3 separate regions of the Homo sapiens genome follow, and all the other regions are linked to region 1. Evidence: promoter capture Hi-C in 16 types of primary human blood cells and fetal thymus (Javierre and others, 2016). All regions are on one chromosome and are shown on one strand. Each heading gives the region's core, a stretch centred on a gene start or on the middle of the fragment in contact. The rest is flanking DNA. Distances are from core to core; before and after follow the strand shown.

What was found. The method cuts DNA at HindIII sites, captures the fragments that hold promoters and counts their contacts. A CHiCAGO score of 5 or more calls a contact.
Region 2: a fragment that was not itself captured here is called in contact with the fragment with the promoter of AVPR1B in region 1 in 1 of 17 cell types (M1 macrophages); the score reaches 5.4 in M1 macrophages.
Region 3: a contact is called between the fragment with the promoter of PM20D1 here and the fragment with the promoter of AVPR1B in region 1, in 4 of 17 cell types (erythroblasts, M0 macrophages, M1 macrophages and 1 more). The highest score is 7.0, in erythroblasts.

Annotation. Positions count from the first base shown.
Region 1 is chr1:206,115,875-206,118,847 of GRCh38, reverse strand. AVPR1B (arginine vasopressin receptor 1B) reads left to right here and starts at 1,460. Exons shown (of 2, transcript NM_000707.5): 1 at 1,460-2,897. The coding sequence starts at 1,958. It overlaps AVPR1B-DT (AVPR1B divergent transcript), which reads right to left and starts at 1,065. Exons shown (of 3, transcript NR_186693.1): 1 at 1,023-1,065; 2 at 508-778. RefSeq lists a silencer at 346-640. The HindIII fragment of the contact is 5,056 bases long and covers 1-2,973 here.
Region 2 is chr1:205,829,028-205,832,000 of GRCh38, reverse strand. PM20D1 (peptidase M20 domain containing 1) reads left to right here. Exons shown (of 13, transcript NM_152491.5): 12 at 1,622-1,721. Among named protein-coding and RNA genes, the nearest start is that of SLC41A1, 17 kb to the right of the region's middle. The HindIII fragment of the contact is 9,446 bases long and covers 1-2,973 here.
Region 3 is chr1:205,848,629-205,851,601 of GRCh38, reverse strand. It overlaps PM20D1 (peptidase M20 domain containing 1), which reads left to right and starts at 1,470. Exons shown (of 13, transcript NM_152491.5): 1 at 1,470-1,698. The coding sequence starts at 1,530. RefSeq lists an enhancer at 1,247-1,541. The HindIII fragment of the contact is 2,085 bases long and covers 1,157-2,973 here.

The DNA of each region.
Region 1 (2,973 bases), core at 211-2,710:
AAAAAAAGCAAGACAAAAGGACTTCTCTCCTGTCACAGACTCTGCCCTTTCTGAGAGTCTGGGACCCTACTATTGTCACTCCTAAATTTTGTTTGTTTGTTTGTTTGTTTGTTTGTTTGTTTGTTTTTGAGACAGAGTTTCACTCTGTCGCCCAGGCTGGAGTGCAGTGGTGTGTTCTCGGCTCACTGCAAGCCCTGCCTCCCGGGTTCACGCCATTCTCCTGCCTCAGCCTCCCCAGTAGCTGGGACCACAGGCGCCCGCCACCACGCCCGGCTAATTTTTTGTATTTTTAGTAGAGATGGGGTTTCACCGTGTTAGCCAGGATGGTCTCGATCTCCTGACCTCGTGATCTGCCCGCCTCGGCCTCCCAAAGTGCTGGGATTACAGACGTGAGCCATCGCGCCCAGTCTGTCACTCCTAACTTCTAATCTGCTCTAGGGAGAGTCCCAATAGTCCATCTTGCATACTGAAGATTAAGTGAATTTCACAGCCAACACCACACAATACCTTCTCTATTGAGCTGTAAGCTGCCTCTGGACTGGATGGTGTTTTGTTTTTATTTTTACCGTCAGCACCAGTGCCTCTCACATAGAATTTAGCCAAGCCGGTTAGGTGTTAAGTGCTGCTGCTGCGCTGTCAGAAGGGCACACGGGGCTGGTTCTAGACCGGCCTCTGCTGCTTACTCGTTCAGTAATCTTCTACAGCAAGTTCTTGAACTTCTCTGGGCCTGTTTTCTACCTCGCCGAGTGGTTAACTGCGTTTAGGATCTTGGAAGCACCTAAGCACGAAAAGCACATAGGCCAGAAGTTAAGATGTCCCTTGGGGACGCAAATACCGGGAATTTCTCCGGCTGTTCCCACCGATCAAGCACCAGGGCTCTCAGGTCTAGCTCCTTCGTCTCCCCACCCCCACATATACCCTCACTTTTTCTTCCTTTCCCTATGCCTCGCAGTCCCTCAACAGGGTCTGCGGTCAGACGTCACTCCCAGGTGACTGGCAATCAGGGATGCCGCCTCGCTCACCTGGCCACCCTTGAAGATTGTGGATCCTGCACCGGCTAGCCGGCTGGCAGAGGGCGCGCCAACAGCCGCCAGCCGAAGTGCCCCCGCGTAGGTGGGAGGAGTGACTGCCTCTCACCATCCCCCGGGGATGCACCTGTGGAGAGACGGCCCGAGAGTTCCAGGGTGAGTGCGCAGAGGAGCTTATCTGCCTGCCTGCGGGTCGGTGTGTCCTGCCGGCTGCTGGGCGCTGGCCTGCGTCGCCTGCTTGTCTCGCTCCCTGTCCCTCGTCCGCTACCCCCTCTGCCCCCCCTCCCTCCAGCAGCCGGCCTCTCGGTCATCCCGCCGGGTGGGTGCCTGCGAACCTCACTCCTCCCTCCTCTGCAGGAGCCAACTGGCGAGCCGCAGGCCGCCGGGCTCGGCCTGGGAGCCCATAAAACCCGCCCGAGCCGCGCCGCTGCGCTCCAGCCGCTGCTCACCAGGCAGAGCGAGCGGGCTTGGCTGGGGCTTCCTGCCCTGAGCGCGACACCGACTGCCCCGGACCGCGCCTCCAAGCAGGCTGAAGGGCTTCCGCTCTTGGCTTCCAGAAAAGTTTGGAGAAAGAGAATTTGAGGCGGATTGGAGGGTGGTAGCCCCTCCCCAGCCTTCTTTCCCTCCCAGAAGCCTCACTCTGCACAGCGTCCCCCATTCTTCCCGTCCTGATTCCCCATCTTCCTGACCCCTCCTTCTCCCTCTCCTGGGTCGATCCCAGTCACATTTTCTCCTTCCGAATCTCATCCTCCCTCCTCCTCTCTATCCCAGTCCTCTGAACGATTTCCGCCTATTTGCAAGCCTTCTCCCTGTCATTCTCAACGCTTCTCCTTTCTCTCCACCTCCCCTGCCACTCCATTTTATCCATCAAACCTCTCCACTTGCATCCACACCCTCCCTTCATCCTTCCCTCCCAGCAAACCTTGCTCATGGATTCTGGGCCTCTGTGGGATGCCAACCCCACCCCTCGGGGCACCCTCTCTGCCCCCAATGCCACAACACCCTGGCTGGGCCGGGATGAGGAGCTGGCCAAGGTGGAGATCGGAGTCCTGGCCACTGTCCTGGTGCTGGCGACCGGGGGCAACCTGGCTGTGCTGCTGACCCTGGGCCAGCTGGGCCGCAAGCGCTCCCGCATGCACCTGTTCGTGCTGCACTTAGCCCTGACAGACCTGGCCGTGGCGCTCTTCCAGGTGCTGCCACAGCTGCTGTGGGACATCACCTACCGCTTCCAGGGCCCCGACCTCCTGTGCAGGGCCGTCAAGTACCTGCAGGTGCTCAGCATGTTTGCCTCCACCTACATGCTGCTGGCCATGACGCTGGACCGCTACCTGGCTGTCTGTCACCCCCTGCGCAGCCTCCAGCAGCCAGGCCAGTCCACCTACCTGCTCATCGCTGCTCCCTGGCTGCTGGCCGCCATCTTCAGCCTCCCTCAAGTCTTCATTTTTTCCCTGCGGGAGGTGATCCAGGGCTCAGGGGTGCTGGACTGCTGGGCAGACTTCGGCTTCCCTTGGGGGCCACGGGCCTACCTCACCTGGACCACCCTGGCTATCTTCGTTCTGCCGGTGACCATGCTCACGGCCTGCTACAGCCTCATCTGCCATGAGATCTGTAAAAACCTAAAAGTCAAGACACAGGCCTGGCGGGTGGGAGGAGGGGGCTGGAGGACTTGGGACAGGCCCTCACCTTCCACCTTAGCTGCCACCACTCGGGGGCTGCCATCTCGGGTCAGCAGCATCAACACCATCTCACGGGCCAAGATCCGAACAGTGAAGATGACCTTTGTCATCGTGCTGGCCTACATCGCTTGCTGGGCTCCCTTCTTCAGTGTCCAGATGTGGTCCGTGTGGGACAAGAATGCCCCTGATGAAGGCAAGTGGGGTCTATGTGGGGGCAGTGAGGTGGGAGAGACAGAAAGAGAGGATGGGGGATTAGGTCAGGGTTACAA
Region 2 (2,973 bases), core at 154-2,653, 290 kb after region 1:
GGTTAACCAAATCTGGAAGGGACCCTGGAATTTGCCTTTTTCACAAATACCCCCAGGAGATTCTGACACAAGGTGATGACTAACTATAGTTTGAGAATCTCTGGTCAATGGTTATTGCTCTAATATTAAGACATTGCTCAGCCGGGCACGGTGGCTCACACCTGTAATCCCAGCACTTTGGGAGGCAGAGGCGGGTGGATCATGAGGTCAGGAGTTCAAGACCAGCCTGACCAATATGGTGAAACCTCGTCTCTACTAAAAATACAAAAATTAGCTGGGCGTGGTAGCTCACGCCTGTAGTCCCAGCTACTCGGGAGGATGAGGCAGGAGAATCGCTTGAACCCAGGAGGCAGAGGTTGCAGTAAGCCGAGACAGCCCCACTGCAGTCCAGCCTGGGTGACAGAGCAAGACTCTGTCAAAAAAAAAAAAAAAAAGGAGAGAGACGTTGCTCAATAATAATGATATTGCTCAATTATTAATGCTCTAATATTAAGGCCTGTGTCTAGTTTTCTTTTCTCTTGGTTTAATCAGAGATTCCTCCAAACATCCAGGAACCCGGCCCTCACAATCCCAGATTCTCCTCTCTTGGCCCTCAAAGGCTACCTACTCTATTCTCTTTCTTCTGGAGCACTTACTGTAATCCACCAATGGGGCCAGGCTTTTGCAGAAAAAAGATAGGCAGCAATCAACCACAAAGCAAGGAACTTGAAGGGCCTGGATGTCCATTTGAAACCAGGAGTGGAAGATGGAACAAAACACAAATTACCATCTCAAATCACCGCACACACTTGAATTGATCCTCCAGGGTGTCTTTTCCCAAAGAACACACCTATGGGCACAAGTCCCAGCCTCTGCTAGGTGACCTGCTACCACCTTCAGGAGAGTGGGAAACTGGAAAGAGAGTATCCTGGCACTTTCCAGACCTAAGGTTTGACTCTAGGAAGACTTCAGAGGATGAGAATAACAGGAAATTTTGTTCCAATTCAAGACGGTGATATTTTATAGTAGTAAAGTTCTCCCAGAGGGTATTTATTTCTGACCTAGAGTGATACAGAATAAAGGTCAGGTGATAAAGAAGTGCTATCTAGATTCTGGTTTCTTAAATAGCAAATGGCCATGGCCTTGGGTATGAAATGAAGATACTGGCCACCCTGGGCGTCATGGGGAACAGCAAACAGCCATGGCCTTGGGTATGAAATGAAGATACTGGCCACCCTGGGCGTCATGGGGAACAGCAAACGGCCATGGCCTTGGGTATGAAATGAAGATACTGGCCACCCTGGGCGTCATGGGGAATAGCAAATGGCCATGGCCTTGGGTATGAAATGAAGATATTGGCCTCCCTGGTCGTCATGGGGAGAGGACACTTCCAAGGGCATTGGTGAGACATCCCTTGAATGGTCCATCCAAGGGATGTCTCACCAATGCCCTTGGAAGGAGATTCCATGTTCCTGGCTGAAATGGTGCTTTTTGTAAGGATAGCTATACGCTTTCAGGAGAGCCCAGGCATTGCTCTGTAGTGATCCAGTAGTCCTGATTTTCCAGCCAGGCCACACCCCAGCCACTTCGCTGGTTTGATTGCTCATGTAAAGCCCCTTTCCTGTTGATCTTCCCTCTCTAGTTACTTCTATTGGCAACACAGACAGCCGATTCTTTACAAACCTCACCACTGGCATCTACAGGTTCTACCCCATCTACATACAGCCTGAAGACTTCAAACGGTGAGTGGAACAGGTTTGAGCAGCAGGTGGGAGAAAAGAAATACACTTGATGTGTCCTTTTCCTACCCCATGCTCCTGGCAGTCCACAGAATCAGGGGGAAAGCCAGGATTTGGCAAAATGAAATGGAGACATTGTAGAACCTAACCCATCTACTGTCCTTATTGCCAGAGTCTCATTGTCACCCCCTAGAATTTATGGAAATTGGCCCCTCTTTTACAAAGATGGAGATAATTGGGTGATTGGGGAGAACCTGGTGGAATCGGTACCCTTGGGTGCTAATCCCAGCTCTTCCTCTCTTTGGGAGAGGGCTTATCCTCTGGACCCCGTTTTCTCCACTTACAAAATGGGGAGACTCCTCAGCATTTTCTGAAATGCAGACACATATGAGGTCAAAGGTGGATGCGTGTTTTGACTTCTCAGAAGAAAGCACTATGGAAATCCAAGATGTGAGCACCAATTTTAACTGCTCTGTGTGAATTACTATTTTTGTGGGTTCTTCAGCACATTTTCAATCCTGGGGTTTGGGAGGATGATTTCCATTTACCTCTCTGCTACTTATCACGTCCAGACTTGATTTCCCCATCCTAAATCCTCTGTAGACAGAGTGAAAATATTTGAATAGGAGCTTAAGAACAGCTTTCATGTTTTTGTTTTTTAAATGGGAGATGGGTAGGTACTCTGTTTCCTTTCATCTTTGAGATTACATATGTAGTTTGGTTGTTGTTTGTTTTGTTTTGCTCTGTTTTGTTTCACTGTGGGGAGGCAGGTTGGTGGATGTGAGGTCTGATAGTAAAGTTTCTAGGTGCCACAGAAAACTGGGTAGGCACCCTGGGCAGTTGCCTTCCCTACCCTCTCTTAGCCCTAGTAAGTGGGACAGTAGGAGACTGGCTTAGAGATAGTCTAGCTAGGCATTCTGTCCTAAGAGAAAGACAATTGGAAAGATAGTTCTTGGCCAAGTGTGGTGACTCACACCTATAATCCCAATACTTTGGGAGGCTGAGGCAGGAGGCTCACTTGAGCCCAGAAGTTTGAGACCAGCCTGGGCAACATAATGAGACTCCATCTCTTCAAAAAAAAATTTAAAAATAAAAAACTTAGCCACACACCTGGGGTCCCAGCAACTCAGGAGCTGAGGTGGGAGGATCACTGAAACCCAGAAGGTTGAGGCTGCAGTGAGCTGTGATTGTACCACTGCAGTCTAGCCTGGGCTACAGAGTGAGAACCTATCTCAAGAAAAAAGATAATTCTCCC
Region 3 (2,973 bases), core at 221-2,720, 270 kb after region 1:
ATAAAAAGTCTCTTTTAAAAAAATTTTAAAGTTAGGTAGAGATTAAGCTACTTTTTACTAAAAATTATGTCAATGTTCATGTTTAAATTTCAACTCTATTTTTAACATTCTAAATCTTAAACTAGGTGGTGAATCCAGAAATGTTCATTATGTTATTTTTTATATCTTTATAATATGTGAAGTATTTCATGATACTGTTTTAAAGTTGCTATTAAAAAGTAACTAGGCAGGGTGTGGTGGCTCACGCCTGTAATCCCAGCACTTTGGGAGGTCGAGGTGGGCAGATCACCTGAGGTCGGGAGTTCGAGACCAGCCTGACCAACATGGAGAAACCCCATCTCTACTAAAAATACAAAATTAGCCAGGCATGGTGGTGCATGCCTGTAATCCCAGCTACTTGGGAGGCTGAGGCCAGAGAATTGCTTGAAACTGGGAGGCGGAGGTTGCGGTGAGCCGAGATCGCCCCATTGCACTCCAGCCTGGGCACCGAGAGAGAAAAAAAAAGAAAAGAAAAGAAAAGTAACTACATGGCTGAATTTTTTTTTTTAAGCAAATCTTAAATGAAATGCAAACACCAGGACTGTGAACCTGTAGCTTTGGTCACAGGTAGCAATATGGCCTTACTGGTTGTATAGCACTTACTGAATTTTTCTTGAGAATTCTAAAATTTGAGAGTGATGCCAGATAAAATTGCATCAAGAAATCTGAAAGGAACGATTTATTCTGGCTTCAGGAAATCTGATTTTATATTTCTGTGACATAAGACAGGTTTTCTTTTTTCCAGAATGATCCTCTACTCTGAATAACCATAAAATTTCACTTGTGGAATACATCAAAATTATTTATACATCAAAATTCTCTTAAATATTTTATAGTAATCTTTCTAAAAATCCTTCAGTCTTACTGTACTTGTCTAGAGTTGCAAAAATGTAGTGTTAACATTAATATTAAAAGCACTTTCAATGAAATTTCTAAACAGGAGCCAACCCTCTGAGCTGGTATTTCAAAGCAGTATCTATAAACAGAGCAATTTGTTCCAATTTCAGATGAAATCAAGCTGGGAACCTAGAGAGCTCCCCCGCCCCAGGATCTAGGGAATTGTAGTCAGGTTCTAAGCTTCGGAAAAAACGAGCAGCAGAGTATGGTCTGATAAGCTTCGTGCATTTTATTTTGCTTTTCCTCCTTTATTTGATTTGTTGTCATACAGGAAAGGATTTATGGGTGAGAGATCAAGTGCGGACCAGACATGACTCTAGCCTGGAGCCCGACCTCACCTCTGCTCTGCAGGAACTGCTGGCCTCAGCACGAAAACCCACAACCCTCGAAAGGCCTTAAGGATCCTGGGCGGGGTCATTCTGTCAATTGGTTGTTCCGCTGTCCTAGCGAAGCGATGATTGGTCAGATCTGGATATGGGGTGTGGCTAAGGCTGTTTGCCGGAATAAGAGCAGAGCTAGGGCCAAGAAACGCTAGTCTGGGCGTTTAGGTCAGAACTACCCCGGTAGCCTGACAGCAGGAGCTCGAGAGAAGCATGGCTCAGCGGTGCGTTTGCGTGCTGGCCCTGGTGGCTATGCTGCTCCTAGTTTTCCCTACCGTCTCCAGATCGATGGGCCCGAGGAGCGGGGAGCATCAAAGGGCGTCGCGAATCCCTTCTCAGTTCAGCAAAGAGGAACGCGTCGCGATGAAAGAGGCGCTGAAAGGTGAACCCGGGTCCCCTTCACCCACCTATGCTCATATGTGGGTCCCTCCCTCCCCAGGTCAACCCGTGACTCCCCGCTTCCGCCGCAAAGCATCTGCTACTGCAGCTGGAGCCCCGACACGCACCCCAGCCCGGCCCCAACACCCTTCCCAGCACATCGTGCCCCTGTCTGGGGACGCCACACTTCCCCCATACCTGGCTCCTGGAACTCTGGTGTGCCCTGCCTAACCTGGAAGCTCCAACTTCACCCCTCTTGGCGTGACCACCGTCCATTCTTTCCCCTGCTTGCCTCGAGTATTACACCAGCTTTCATTTGTACATCAATTTTAACCTTTGAAAGTTTGCATGCCTGATAAATTACTGCGGTGTCGTAAAATAAGACAAATGATATTAGTCTTATCTACAAAGGAGAGAAATTGAGGCTTAGGTCAGCTAAATGATCTTCCCCAGGGCCCCACAGCAAAGAGTGGGCAGTGGGTGACAGCATCTAGTGCCTGTCGGACTCGCTGGGATCAGATGGCTCTAAAGAAAGGGAGTGGAGTGTTCCCGGGGTGTGGGATGTTCCTAATTCTCAATCATAATTGAAGAACATGTCTCCTCTAGATCTCTAATCCAGACCAAAAATTCATCCCTGTTCTGAATCTGCATTTTCCAGGAAACAGGAAAGTTTCTGTTGAGTGCTAGATCCTATGGGATGAAATCCTTCTTTACCATTCAGCTTAGCTCCAGTCTTTTCCCTTTCATTAAGTAATGGATTAAGAGAGACTGCCTGCATAAACATATAGAAGCAGATGCAGGGACCAAAAGCTAACCCCAATAGTTGGATATAGATTGTTCATATGCTAGAGTGACAAGCCTGGGAGGCAGAGCAGGGCTTTCCCAAAGCATAAATAATTCTCTAAAAGGCATTAGACAGCCACTCACAGTCTGCACAGAAGAGAACAAAAGCTACATAAGCTAGAATAGGGACCTCATAGCAACACAGCTTGGAACTCTGAGCAGGGGACAGAACACCTGAGATCAGATCCTTGGGTCTGCCCTTGAGTAGGCACTTGAATCTTTCTGAACCTCGGCTTCCCCATCTATCTGGTGGGCTATGCTATTGTAGGGTTGATCCTTAGCAAAACTGATGAAGTTTGTCTTTCAGAGACCCTTCCTGCCTCAGGTGAATTTGTTTGCACTGTGTTCTTGGAGAGCAGTCTAATTCAATATTCTCATGATTCATGCTTTCCCTCCCAGTGGTTTTGTCTTTGATCATGGAACTCTTTAAAACTGT